3 separate regions of the Homo sapiens genome follow, and all the other regions are linked to region 3. Evidence: promoter capture Hi-C in human tissues and cell types (Jung and others, 2019). All regions are on one chromosome and are shown on one strand. Each heading gives the region's core, a stretch centred on a gene start or on the middle of the fragment in contact. The rest is flanking DNA. Distances are from core to core; before and after follow the strand shown.

Region 1 (4,145 bases), core at 617-3,116, 420 kb before region 3:
GCTCTAAGCATAATTATTAATGATAATCTTTAATGTGCTCTTTCCAGGCTGGGGCTGGTTAGTAACAAGACTTTTGTTTTTCTTTTTGAGGATTATAAGTGTGAGGTGAGAGCGGAATTATTTGGGAAAATATAGGAGTTTGGAAAAAAATGCAGTGAAATGAGAAAGTTCGATGGTTGCTGGTTGAGGACTTTGGGAGACAAATGTCTAACTGAGATTGGACTTTATTTTTAAAATATGAAAATTATCAGACATATATAAAATAGAGATAATTGTATAATGAATGATTGTATATGTTTACATCCTAGTTTTAATAATTATCAAGTTATTGCTCATCACGTTTTATTTCTATCCCTATTTACTTCATTCGTGTATTATTTTGAAGCAAATACCAGATATTATATAATTCATTCCTAAATATTGTACATTTTTTTTCCTAAAAGGTAAGGGTTCAAAAGAGTATGCCAAGAAAAAATAAGACCTAGTCAGAGCTCAATTTTCTCATAGTATCATTATATTTAGAGTTTGTTTAAATAAGATCAAGTTATGACTCATCTATTGCAATTAGTTGATATGTCTCCTTTTTTTTTTTTTTTTTTTTGAGATGGAGTCTCGCTCTGTTGCCCAGGCTGGAGTGCAGTGGCGTGATCTCAGCTCACTGCAAGCTCTGCCTCCTGGGTTCACACCATTCTCCTGCCTCAGCCTCCCGAGTAGCTGAGACTACAGGTGCCCACCACCACGCCTGGCTAATTTTTTGTATTTTTTAGTAGAGACGGGGTTTCACCGTGTTAGCCAGGATGGTCTTGATCTCCTGACCTCGTGATCCACCCACCTCGGCCTCCCAAAGTGCTGGGATTACAGGCGTGAGCCACTGCACCTGGCCAATATGTCTCTTAAATCTCTTTAAATATATATATTTTAATTGGGACTTTATTAATTTGATTTCTATGTAAAGAGTGAAAAAATTTCTCCCTCATTGTCAAATTGAATCATCAATACAATCTAAATAATTTAGTTGTGCTATTTGGAACATATTAGTTTTTGATGCAATGAAATAATCATAGTATGAGAAAAAAAGCAGTATCAAGGAAAAGAAAAAAGTAAGTTTAAAGACATCAATACTGTACAATTCAGCTATAAACACTTATAAAGACAAATTGATACAATCTAAGAAGGAATTCCTTAAAAAGCACGCATGGATGTAAGTCTGTATACCTTATTTGCATTATAAATTGGCAAAGTATCTCATTGTACAGTTATGGTATTTAGACAGATTTGTGGTTGTAAAGTTGGCACTTAAATATTTATCTTGTCTGTCAAGAAATATCACTTAAAATTTATTAAATAAGTACTATGCACTTTTAAATGTATACAGTTTTATTTAGGTATTGAATTAGCAATTCTCACAGGGGCCATTTTGTTTCAATTTGTGCTGACTTCATTGTTGGATATAACTTTCTCCACTGCAGGAATATCACCAGGCTAATTACTAGGAAATCTCTCTCTTTTTTTTTTGGTATATGGAGTAATATGTATGGATGAAAGGACCTTAAAATTGGAGGATTTTTCAATCTAAAATTAGATGCTCATACAAGAGAACCTCTTTCCTACTATAGACTCCCTTCTCCTTCCCCTAATCCCCATCCTGTTCTTAGCAGATGGTGACTGGGCTTATGCTAAAAACTTCCAGGGACAGAGACTTTGCTACTTGTACACAGGAAGACTATTCCATTTTGACGCAACTCAAATTACTAGAAAGTTCAACCTTATGAGACAATTTCTTTAATTTTGAAAATCATATCTTTGGCCATACTTCTGTTCTTTGTAGTAGGAAAAATTTATGTTCTCTCTTCTGTATAGTGGTATTTAAAATATTTAAAAAGATTTTCAGAAATGCTCTACACCTCAAAGATTTTTTATTTTCTAGGGAAAAAGTTTCTAAATGATCTCTTAATAGTTCCTTTAATAATTTGATTTCCAACTCTCTTACTGTCTTTCTCACTTTCTCTGAATGATTGATAGTGTTTAGAGGCCCCTCTATGTTATCAATAACTGATCAGAATATTTCATACTGATACGAACATCAAATTTCTCTTAGTTTAGCCTAAGATGTAAGGTTTTAAACTTTGCAGTTCAATTGCATTGTGTTTCTATGCTCAAATTAACTCATAGATTTTTTTACTTGAACTGCCAAAATATAAGACCCTCCTTAATTTATATTTGAGTGAAAGAGATTTTAAATCCAATTAAAATCAACCCATCAAAAAGTGGGTGAAGGATATGAACAGACACTTCTCAAAAGAAGACATTTATGTGGCCTACAAACATATGAAAAAAAGCTCATCATCACTGGTCATTAGAAAAATGCAAATCAAAACCACAATGGGATGCCATATCATGCCAGTCAGAATGGCGATCATTAAAAAGTCAGGAAACAACAGTTGTTGGAAAGGATGTGGAGAAATAGGAACTCTTTTACACTGTTGGTGGGAGTGTAAGTTAGTTCAACCATTGTGGAAGACAGTGTGGCAATTCCTCAAGGTTCTAGAACCAGAAATACCATTTAACCCAGCAATCCCATTACTGGGTATATACCCAAAGGATTATAAATCATTCTACTATAAAGACACATGCACACATATGTTTATTGCGGCACTATTCACAGTAGCGAAGACTTGGAACCAACCCAAATGTCCATCAGCGATAGACTGGATAAAGAAAATGTGGCACATATACACCATGGAATACCATGCAGCCATAAAAAAGGATGAGTTTATGTCCTTTGCAGGGACATGGATGAAGCTGGAAACCATCATTCTCAGCCAACTAACACAAGAACAGAAAACCAAACACTGCATGTTCTCATTCATAAGTGGGAGTTGAACAATGAGAACACATGGACACAGGGAGGGGAACATCACACACTGGGGCCTGTCAGGGGTGGGTGGCTGGGGGAGGGATAGCATTAGGAGAAATACCTAATGCAGATGATGGGTTGATGGGTGCAGCAAACCACCATGGCACATGTATACCTATGTAACAAACCTGCACGTTCTGCACATTTACCCCAGAACTTAAAGTATAATAATAATTAAAAAAACGTAGCCTAGTGATGTCAGCAAGATGGTAGAATAGGATTGTTTGTGCTCATCCCTTTGCAGAAACATCAGTTTGAAAAACTCAGTGTGCAAAAATACCTTCATAAGAGCTAAGGAATTTAGGTGAGAGATTATAGCACCTGGGTATAATACAGAAATAAGAACAAAAAAATCATTGAAGAGATTAGGAATGACAGTTTCAAATTACACATGGCACCCTTTCCCACAGCCTAGCTAGCACAGCACAGAGAAAGATATACTCTGCTTCTGAGTAGGAGAGTGAAGTGAGCACCAGACTTTGTTGTGGACCTGACCACCAGGCCTGCCCCAATAAAACTGAGTGCCAGCCTTGTGCTCAAGGCTTCAGGTTTTAGATTGGCACTTGTGAATTGAGCTTCCAGGTCTTCTCCAATGCTAGACCAGACCCAGCGGCCTCAGGCTCCAGGCCACACCTACAGACTCAGACTCCAGACTGGGCCTCACAAATCCAGGCACATCATTATCCCTTGCAGACTTAGGCACCAGTCCTGCCTGCCTGAAGGCTCCAACAGCAAGCCTACTCATGATCTCTGAATGAGCTGACTGAAGAAGGGCTTTGCTGACCAAAGCCAATCTGTAAAGACCAGAATAAGTACCAGCTTCTTCAAATGTGCAGACACCAATGCATGGCCACAAAGATCAGAAATAATCAGGGAAACATTATATCACCAAAGGAATAAAATGAAGCTCCAGTAACCTTAAAAATGGAAATGCGTGAACTACCTGATAAATAATTCAAAATAATCATTTTAGTGAGATATAAGAGAACACAGATAAGCAACTAAATAAAATCAGAAAAGCAAAACACAAATGAGAAGTACAATAAAGAGATATAAATCACAAAAAACAAAGCAGAAATTTTAGAACCAAAGAATACAATGCATGAAACAAAAAATTTCATAGCTTCAACAGCAGACTTGATAAAGCATAAGAATTTGAAATTACTCAGAGAAATAAAAAGAAAAAATTGAAAAGAATAAGGAAAGCCTGTGATGGGACACCAGCAAA
Region 2 (4,189 bases), core at 1,044-3,543, 260 kb before region 3:
TGTGGTTAGAAACATGAAGCAAAAAGCAAGTAAAGTCTCTGCTAAGGGAAAAGATATGGTTGGGAAATAAAGGGGCTGTAAATGCATGAAACTCAAGGAGAGAGGCAAGAAGCTAAATCCATATCCTAAGTAAACCTTATGGCAAAAGATTTTATAGCGTGGCTATCTTTTCCAGATGCTTGGGCCACATGTGTGTACACAGATTTGTTAAGGTAATATGCAAATTCAGATACCTAAGACCATTTAAAGGTGGTTTGCAAATATTCTGTGATTCACTTTCAAACTTGGCCCTATTTTAACTAATATAAATAGACATTCCTAAAGCATTGGAAAGCATGAGCATTGTGTATTCAAAGAAATATGTTAACCTCATTTGGCTGGTAGAGATTCTGGAAACAAGATGTAAGCCAAAAATTAAATTCTTAGCCTTCCACCAGTCTGCATGGATGGCCCCCCTCCTTGGCCAAGAGGATCTCAAAGAAAAATTAGTTCAGGCCTTGTTGGGAGGGGAGGTCAGTTATGCCTCATTATACCCCTCCCTTTGGAGTTGAGGCAAAACTGACCAGCACTAACATTAAAATAGAGACCATAAGACCTACAAGACAGACTCTTTGTAGCAGTGAGATACCCAACTCCAACCTGATTCTGATATAGATAGCATCTAATGACAGATAGCAGGTCCTGAAGAAAAGAAAAATATTTTACCTCAAAATGTAATTCTTTGATGTATTTTGAAATGGCCCTGCAAAGCCATCTCTTTTGGGAGAATTTTACCTTCTGTAGAGAGTCTCCTTCCCTTTCCAGGTCTTTTCCTGATTCAGGGGAAATTTAAGAGTTTGATACCTTTTAAGTTCTGATAAGAGACATTTACCATCTATTCTTTCTGAAGCTTGCTACCTGGAGGCTTCATCTACATAACAAGAACCTTGGCTTCCACAGCTCCCCTTATCTTAACTTTTTCAACCAATTGCCAATCAGAAAATCTTTGACTCCACCGTTGGCATGTGAGTGGGCTGAACCAATATATACCTCACATTTATTGATTTATGTCTTTGCCTGTAACTTTTGTCTCCTTAAAATGTGTAAAACCAAGCTGTAACTCAACCACCTTGGGCACATGTTCTAAGGACTTCTTGAGGTTGTGTTCCAGGCCATGGTCTGTCATATTTGAGTCATATTTGGCTCAGAATAAACTTCTTCAAATATTTTTGAAGAGGGGAAGAAGGCATGGGCTTGAATTGAAATCTGATTATATGTTAAGAATGACATGTAATTGTTTTAAGCATTTGATTATGAAGTCCCTTGGTATACTTTTCTTCATTTATGTTATGCATGGGATTTTTCCTTTCTGGCTGGTAGGAATATAAACATCTCCAACCTTGTTTGAGCTCTGTGGTTTTCACCTGTAATCCAACCTCTTGGGTGGTTCTTTGCTGGGCCTCAGGTGGTTTCCTCATACCTGTGAGCTGACTGATACTCACCCAAAGGCTGGAGGAGGGCCCTCACCAAATTTTTATCTCATAAATCTCTCTCTGTGTAGCTCTCTCCTTTTTGTTACCCTGCCCTGTGAACTCTAGTTGGCTGTACATCCTTACAGTCCCAAGTCTGTTTTCTTAACTCTGGGAGACTCCCAGGCTCCACTTGGGATTTTCCTCCTTTTCTTGAGGCCTAAAAACTTTTATCAAGGCTGTAAACTAGGGCAATTGTAGGACCCACCTAATTTGTTTTCTCTCTCCCAGGAATCACTGCTCTATAGAGTGTAGGGTCCAATGGCTGAAAAACCATTGTTTTATTTAGCTTGTTTTTAGGTTATTTTGGATTGTCCTTGTTACGCTTTCTTGATCCAGAGTGGAATGTAATTGTACGGATAATATGTGCTATTGTTTATATCAACATCAACAATAAAGAAAGTGTTTTTTAAAAATATGGTATTTTTATTGTAATTTCTCCAAAGCTGTAATTAAATTGATAGTGCTTCCTAAAGGTGTTTTTGAGTTGTAAAAAATACATTGTATGCAACAGTGAAAAAATATTTTGATAATTATGCCCAAAAGGCAATGTGTAATTTGGGATTTTATAACATTCCAAGTTCTCTAAGTATAGATCCCAACCTTAAAAGTTGCAAATATGGGCAAATTTCACACAGTTGGCCTTATTTATTAATAGTACATGTTTCTAGGAATAACTTATGTATAAAAGTACGTTCCTGACTGCAATATATATAGGAAAAAATTATTACATAGAAAAGAAAGAATAGTTTTGGCCAGGCATGGTGGCTCACACCTATAATCCCAGCACTTTGGGAGGCCGAGGTGGGTGGATCACTAGGTCAAGAGATCGAGACCATCCTGGCTAACACGGTGAAACCCCATCTCTACTAAAAATACAAAAAATTAAATTAGCCGGGTGTGGTGATGGGCGCCTGTAGTCCCAACTACTTGGGAGGCTGAGGCAGGAGAATGGCGTGAACCCAGGAGGTGGAGCTTGCAGTGAGCCGAGACTGCACCACTGTACTCCAGCCTGGGCAACAGAGCAAGACTCCATCTCAAAAAAAGAAAGAGAAAGAATAGTTTTATAATTTTTGTCTTCTCCTTAGCTAGTAAAATAGAGTTTCTACAGAAGTACCTACATGTATAGCCTCCATTTCTTAGGTTTAATTAAAATATTACTTATAGATTATATCACCAGCCTCATTATATAGCTACCAAGTGGAGAGTGAAGAGAACCTTGATAACTCCCTTTACAGAACCTTCACAATTATTCTAATTATTATCTGATAGATCAGAGATTACCACTGTGTATTTCAGCTCAATGTAAATGTTAAGTGATCCCTATAGAAAGGAAATCATAATACAGTGTTGGAATAGACTTTAATCAAATTGACAACATTTTATCTTTATAAAATTTTAACTGAAGAACAGTTGCAATCCAGAAAGCAAGATTTACAGGAAGCACACAGTGACTAGTCCTGCAAGAGTTTATGTGACTTCTGCTACTATGGATCTCAGTGAAAGCGTTTTAGTCTCCTAGATAATTTTGCAAATGAGTAGACAGGTATAGAGGGATTGTGTCACTTTAAATTTTGCAAGAAATTGGTGAAGACCCAGAGTATAATGCATAGGTGCTCATGTCTGATTCCTGGTCATCCACATCAACTTCCCAGAGAACAAATGCTTTGAGGGGCCAACTAGAAATTAACTTTAAAAAAGGATAAGAGTCTTGGCCAGGCATGGTGGCTCATCTCTGTAATTCCAGCACTTTGGGAGGCCAAGGTGGGCAGATCACTTGAGGCAGGAGTTCAAGACCAGCCTGACCAACATGGTGAAACCCTGTCTCTACTAAAAATACAAAAATTAGGCGGGCATGGTGGTGGGTGCCTGTAATCCCAGCTACTCGGGAGACTGAGGCATGGGAATTGCTTAAACCTGGGAGGCGGCGGCCGCAGTGAGCCGAGATCGCCCCACTGCACTCCAGCCTGGGAGACAGAGTGAGATTCCGTTAAAAAAAAAAAAAAGATAAGAGTCTTAACATGGTTACACAAGATCCACTTTCATTCTTTCATATTCTTGGTAGAAGGGAAATTGGACTCTTTGGGCTGCAAGTAACGGAGACAAGGGCTTACTTATAGGAAATATATATAGTAGTACAAGTGTGTCTTATGGAATCAATGACAGTCATGAAGCCAAGCCTTGGGAAGGGACTCTAATCAGGAAATAGGAAACTGTGAAGCCTGAACATATCTCCACTTCTCTCTGCCTACAATATGCATTCTTATACCTGCCCTGATTGGCTTTTGATTTTTGTGGTCTATGAAGGGAAGACAATGTTTCACAACTGAATTTACGTGCTATAGGTCTGTCAAAAGTAAAAACAAATTGGCAGTTCCAATTCTTAATTCCCAGAGAAGGGAATATGAGTGGCCAGCTTGGTCAGGAGTTGACCTGTGGTCCAATAAGGAGATTATATTACTGTAAAGAGCTTATTTTTATAGTTCAGCCTCTACAGAGGGAATAGTTCCCAGGTAAGGCAAAATCATTGTGAAAAGATGTCTAAGCATCTGTGAGTGGAGATGTGCTAACAGAAAGGAAGTATGGGGTTACATTCCCAACTTTTGACAAGTTAGTATCATGAGGTTGCTGTGCAGTGAGAGCAAATGTCATGTTAGATGTAATTTGGGGTTAAGAGTCTT
Region 3 (4,201 bases), core at 1,135-3,634:
CTCTAAGATCACCCAGATACCAAAATCTCTCACCTCAGGTTTTTATTTTGTCCCAGGGCAGGAAAGGAAAATTACTGTGTTCCCACTAATGCTTAGTTCCTTTTTTCTTAACCCTGGTTAGTCACAGTTGCTGCTGAATCATCCAGATACAAATCACAAAGCCTTTCCCTCCAAAATTCATAGGGTATCTTCCCAAAGGTCCAAGTAAGGGGTCAGATCCCTGAACTGATAGGGATAAATAGTAAGTCATTTGTCTTCACTTAGCTTCAGTTTTTTCATCTGTGACATGGAGGTAATAGTGCCAGCACTCCCTGCTTCATGGGGTTTTAGAAGGATTTTGTGAGCTGGTGTACATAACAGGGCTTTGAAAAGTGAAATATTACAGAAATGTAAGGTAGACTCAAAAAGATATCATACCATCTCAGAACTAGATAAACAAACATAGGCTTTTAATCCTGTAGCTCTAGAGAGTCACCTGCCAGAAGGTTTGCATCACAGTGATTGCCCTTCTTACCTTCTATGCATATAAAAACATTCAGGGGAAACCATGTGAAAGAAGCTGTCTAAAATCCAAATAAAAATGAAGGAAGAAAAGGAATGGGAATGCCTGTGGAAGTGAGAATGGAGTTATGCCAAAGTTGTGCTTTCTACTGTCTCCTTGAAAAGAGCAATCTCCAGGCTTGCCTAGGTAGCAGAATAAGTGCTGCATGGAGAAGCTGGGGTTGGTTCTTTTCCTTGGAGATTCCTGGCCGGTAGCAAGCTATCTGTTGAAGAAGGACGAAAGGAGACAGCCCCTTCTGTGGATAGCACTTGTAGTAGCCTGTGCCTGCCATTGCTGCCAAACATCCACTTGACTAACAACCATTGATTTGAGGGACTGATCAATGGCAGCACTCTTGGTTGGAGCATCTAGTGATTTTCAAAATAACCCTTCTTTTGTTTTTGTTTTTGTTGTTTTTTTCTTTATTATGTTTTCCTCCAACAGCTGAGAGGGGGCGCTGGATGGGGCAGATCAAGAGGAGGTAGACCATAACGTTGAGTTTAATAGCCCAGCTCAGCTCAGGGCCAGAAGTGAACTGTTCATGAGTAATTTGCCCTCCAGCCCAGCTCTGAAAAGATCAAGTGTGTGCTCCCCCAGCCCAACTGCATAGCCAAATTGACAATAAAGTATGGCCGTGTCCCAGCTGTCATTGTTGTAAACTGTCCTGAAACGACCCTCACTCCTGGATACCTGATCTAGGGGGTTGTTAGGAGCTGCCACCCTAGAAACCTGCCCAGTCTCTGGTCCAAGTCGCACACATCAAGCTGAAGCTTCTTGATCCCTCAGGTCTCTTCCTCGCTTTGTCCACGCTTCTTTCCTTCTAGACTGTCTGGACACATTCTCAGTCACCTTTTCCGTACTATTTGCCTATTAATCCCACCCCTCCGCTCAGGTCACGCAGGTTCCCCTGCCCAGCTTCTGTCCCGAGCAGTAAACATACGGTCCGCAAGGGTTTGCTTTTTTGACCTGGGCGAAGTGTGTTGCCAACACGCACTTGGACCAGACTCGAGACAGCGGCCACTCGGCCAGGTCCCCCGGGGTCCAAACCGATACGAAATGGTGCCCTCTGCCCGTCGCCCCCTTGGGCTCCTTTTCAAGGGCAGCTATCACGCCGCCTCTGGTCCCTGAACTTTCATCACTCTTCGGGAAGCGCTTTGTCTTTTTAAAGGAGATTGGGGACGAATATTAATGACTGTAGCCGAGAATCTATCAAATCCGCCCAATTCCATGCCAGGGATAGACTCAGGTCCTTGCACCGAAGGCGAGCCCCTGACACTAGCTCGCGTTCTTCACACACGGTCACCCCGCAGACCCAGAGATTTCTCCCACTTCCCCAAATCTGCAGGAGAAACCATAGGAGGGGGTCACGAGGCACCATCCTGGAGCCCAGCTTCTCCTCTGCCCCAGTCCTCCGCATACAACCTGCTTCAAAAGCCCAGGAGAAAAGCAGTCACCTTGACTCTAGCGCCTCGGTCCTTAGGGGTTTGGAAAACGCCAGGAAGCCCAAGGCTACCCGGCACGCGCTCGCCTGGCCTGAGACCCACCCTGGAAGACGAGTTTCCCTCCCGCGGGCATCGTGGCAAGTTACCACTTAGTGGCAGATAAAGCAGGGCGGGGCAGGTGGAGCGGGCGCCGAGCGCCTAGCCCGCAGCCCCTGCGCGCCTACCTGGAATGGCTAAATTGGTGAGGGGGATGCTGTGCATGCTCTCCGGCAGAGTTGCCATCCAGTCGGCTAATTTCAGCTCGTTTTTCCCCTGAGACGAGGCCATCGTGCCAGTCGGCGTGCAGCGCGCTGGTCCCAGCACTCCTCGGGCAGGCTGGCAGGCTGCTGCCGCTAATCCAATGTTTGCTCTAGCCCCGCTAGAGTTTACACTCCTCTCTGCGCCACACCCACAGGATGGCGCAGACACATGCTAATTTTAATAATTATTCAAAACACCCCGTGCTCCCTTAGTGCCTCCGCCAGACTCCGCTGGAGCTTTTGTTCCTGACGTCCGTGCTCAGCTCTCTCCGCTCTCCCCTCCCTCCCCAACCCCCTCCTCCCGTCTTATCCTTCCTAGGCGTCTCTGCCTTTCCTCGCCATTCTGCAGCTTTCCCTGGTTTCTTATTTTTCTTTTCTATTCATTTTTTTCCAACTGCTTTGCCCATGGCTTGCTCGATCCTTTGCTGTGACTTTCTCGTCCTGTTTGTATGAAAGACAGTCTTGCACTTGAACCTAAAATCCTAGCAGACTTTGGGATGTTATTGCCTCCTGAGGAACAGACTTCTCATGCTGGGTTTCAGGGCTTTCCGTCCTTATCAAAGAGCTTTCCTTTTTGTAATCTACAACAGGTTATACCTTTCCTCAGCCAGAGACCACAACCCTGTTTATTAAAAAATGATTATCTTTATTCACTCTTTTGCCTACTTTGTGAAATAGCTGGTAAGTATGAGTCAGTGAAGGGCATGGTAAATTCTAGGTGGTTCCTACTTAATCCTGGGTACCTTGCTCCAGACATTTCAAAGTCAAGAAATGCTACTCCCCCTTCTTTTCTCAGATCATGAGAAGTCTACATTATTTCCATGGAGAACACTGCCTCTGTCCTGTCAGTTTCATGGCACTCAGGGTAAGACTGGAGCCTTATGCTGGAAGAAAATCGCCACATCTCCCAGTGACATGCTCTAATTATTGCCAGTAGCATTTGGTGGAATGTATTTGGCACCATTCAAAGTGATCTATGTGACTGTCTGCATTTTCATTCCTTTGCAGACTGGAAAGATGTGCCTCTCTCAAGAGAAATCACTCACTGGGCCTCCAAAGAACTGTCTGGGTCCACCTGCTCTCAGATGAGTAAAAGGAGAGAGATGAAGTTTTACAAATGTAATGAGAGCAGCAGTGGCCTGAATAGGAATTATAAGAGATGAACTGAAAGTGTGCTGGGCTTTTGCAACCCAGGAAATGGAAATGCAATAAACAGACCTCTGTTCTTTCATGCCAGGGTTGTGTAAATTTTTATTTTTCTATGGGAAATGCTATTAGATTGCGGAAATGACAATCAACATAGGAGACAAAGAGAGCCATGAAACATGAGAATAATTATTCAAGGTTAGTAAATCCATTTAATCCCAAATAGCATTAAAAAATAAGAAAAAACCTAGAGCCTACCTTATTTTCTACAATGATGCTAAGTCCTAAGAATATTCACCCCCAAATGGGGAGCACTATGGGAAAGATAGAGGAGAGGCAACGCCTTATTTTGGTTATCAAATTTTCCATGCCCCTTGTAAAATAAATTCATACCTTCAAGAGGACATGGTACAGTTATCTTTAGTGATGAGGAAGAGATATACTGAAAATTTTCCCCAAATAAATCTTAATATACATGCTAGTACAATAGAACCCACATATCCTTTTAATTAGGATGATAGTTTAGCTTACTATAGGACTCTTGGTCAAGAGATCTACAAACACCACCCTTCTGTAAGAAACCTACAAACACCACCTAATGCTGGTGGTCTCAGGGCATGATTGCAAGGCAATGAGGAAAATTCAAATCTAGTGGTCAGCTGCTCTGTCTCTGAGTAGTTTGGGCAAGTCCTCTAGTCTCTGCTAGCCCCAGTTTTCTCCATTATAAAGTGGTAATAAGAACTCAGAGATTTGTGGTGAAGCTTCCAGAAGAG

Evidence for each region. Contacts are between HindIII fragments. The study calls those that stand out against the background at their distance.
Region 1: a fragment that was not itself captured here is called in contact with the fragment with the promoter of PLCXD3 in region 3 in 1 of the 25 tissues and cell types used here (mesendoderm cells).
Region 2: a contact is called between a fragment that was not itself captured here and the fragment with the promoter of PLCXD3 in region 3, in 3 of the 25 tissues and cell types used here (dorsolateral prefrontal cortex, heart left ventricle and hippocampus).

Annotation. Positions count from the first base shown.
Region 1 is chr5:41,088,171-41,092,315 of GRCh38, forward strand. All of the region lies in intron 3 of LOC105374739 (a long non-coding RNA gene), which reads left to right. Among named protein-coding and RNA genes, the nearest start is that of MROH2B, 19 kb to the left of the region's middle. The HindIII fragment of the contact is 5,349 bases long and covers 1-4,145 here.
Region 2 is chr5:41,251,859-41,256,047 of GRCh38, forward strand. It overlaps a transcript of C6 not described here. Among named protein-coding and RNA genes, the nearest start is that of C6, 40 kb to the left of the region's middle. RefSeq lists an enhancer at 637-1,169. The HindIII fragment of the contact is 4,857 bases long and covers 1-4,189 here.
Region 3 is chr5:41,508,217-41,512,417 of GRCh38, forward strand. It overlaps PLCXD3 (phosphatidylinositol specific phospholipase C X domain containing 3), which reads right to left and starts at 2,385. Exons shown (of 3, transcript NM_001005473.3): 1 at 2,208-2,385. The coding sequence starts at 2,310. RefSeq lists an enhancer at 1,911-2,739. The HindIII fragment of the contact is 4,804 bases long and covers 608-4,201 here.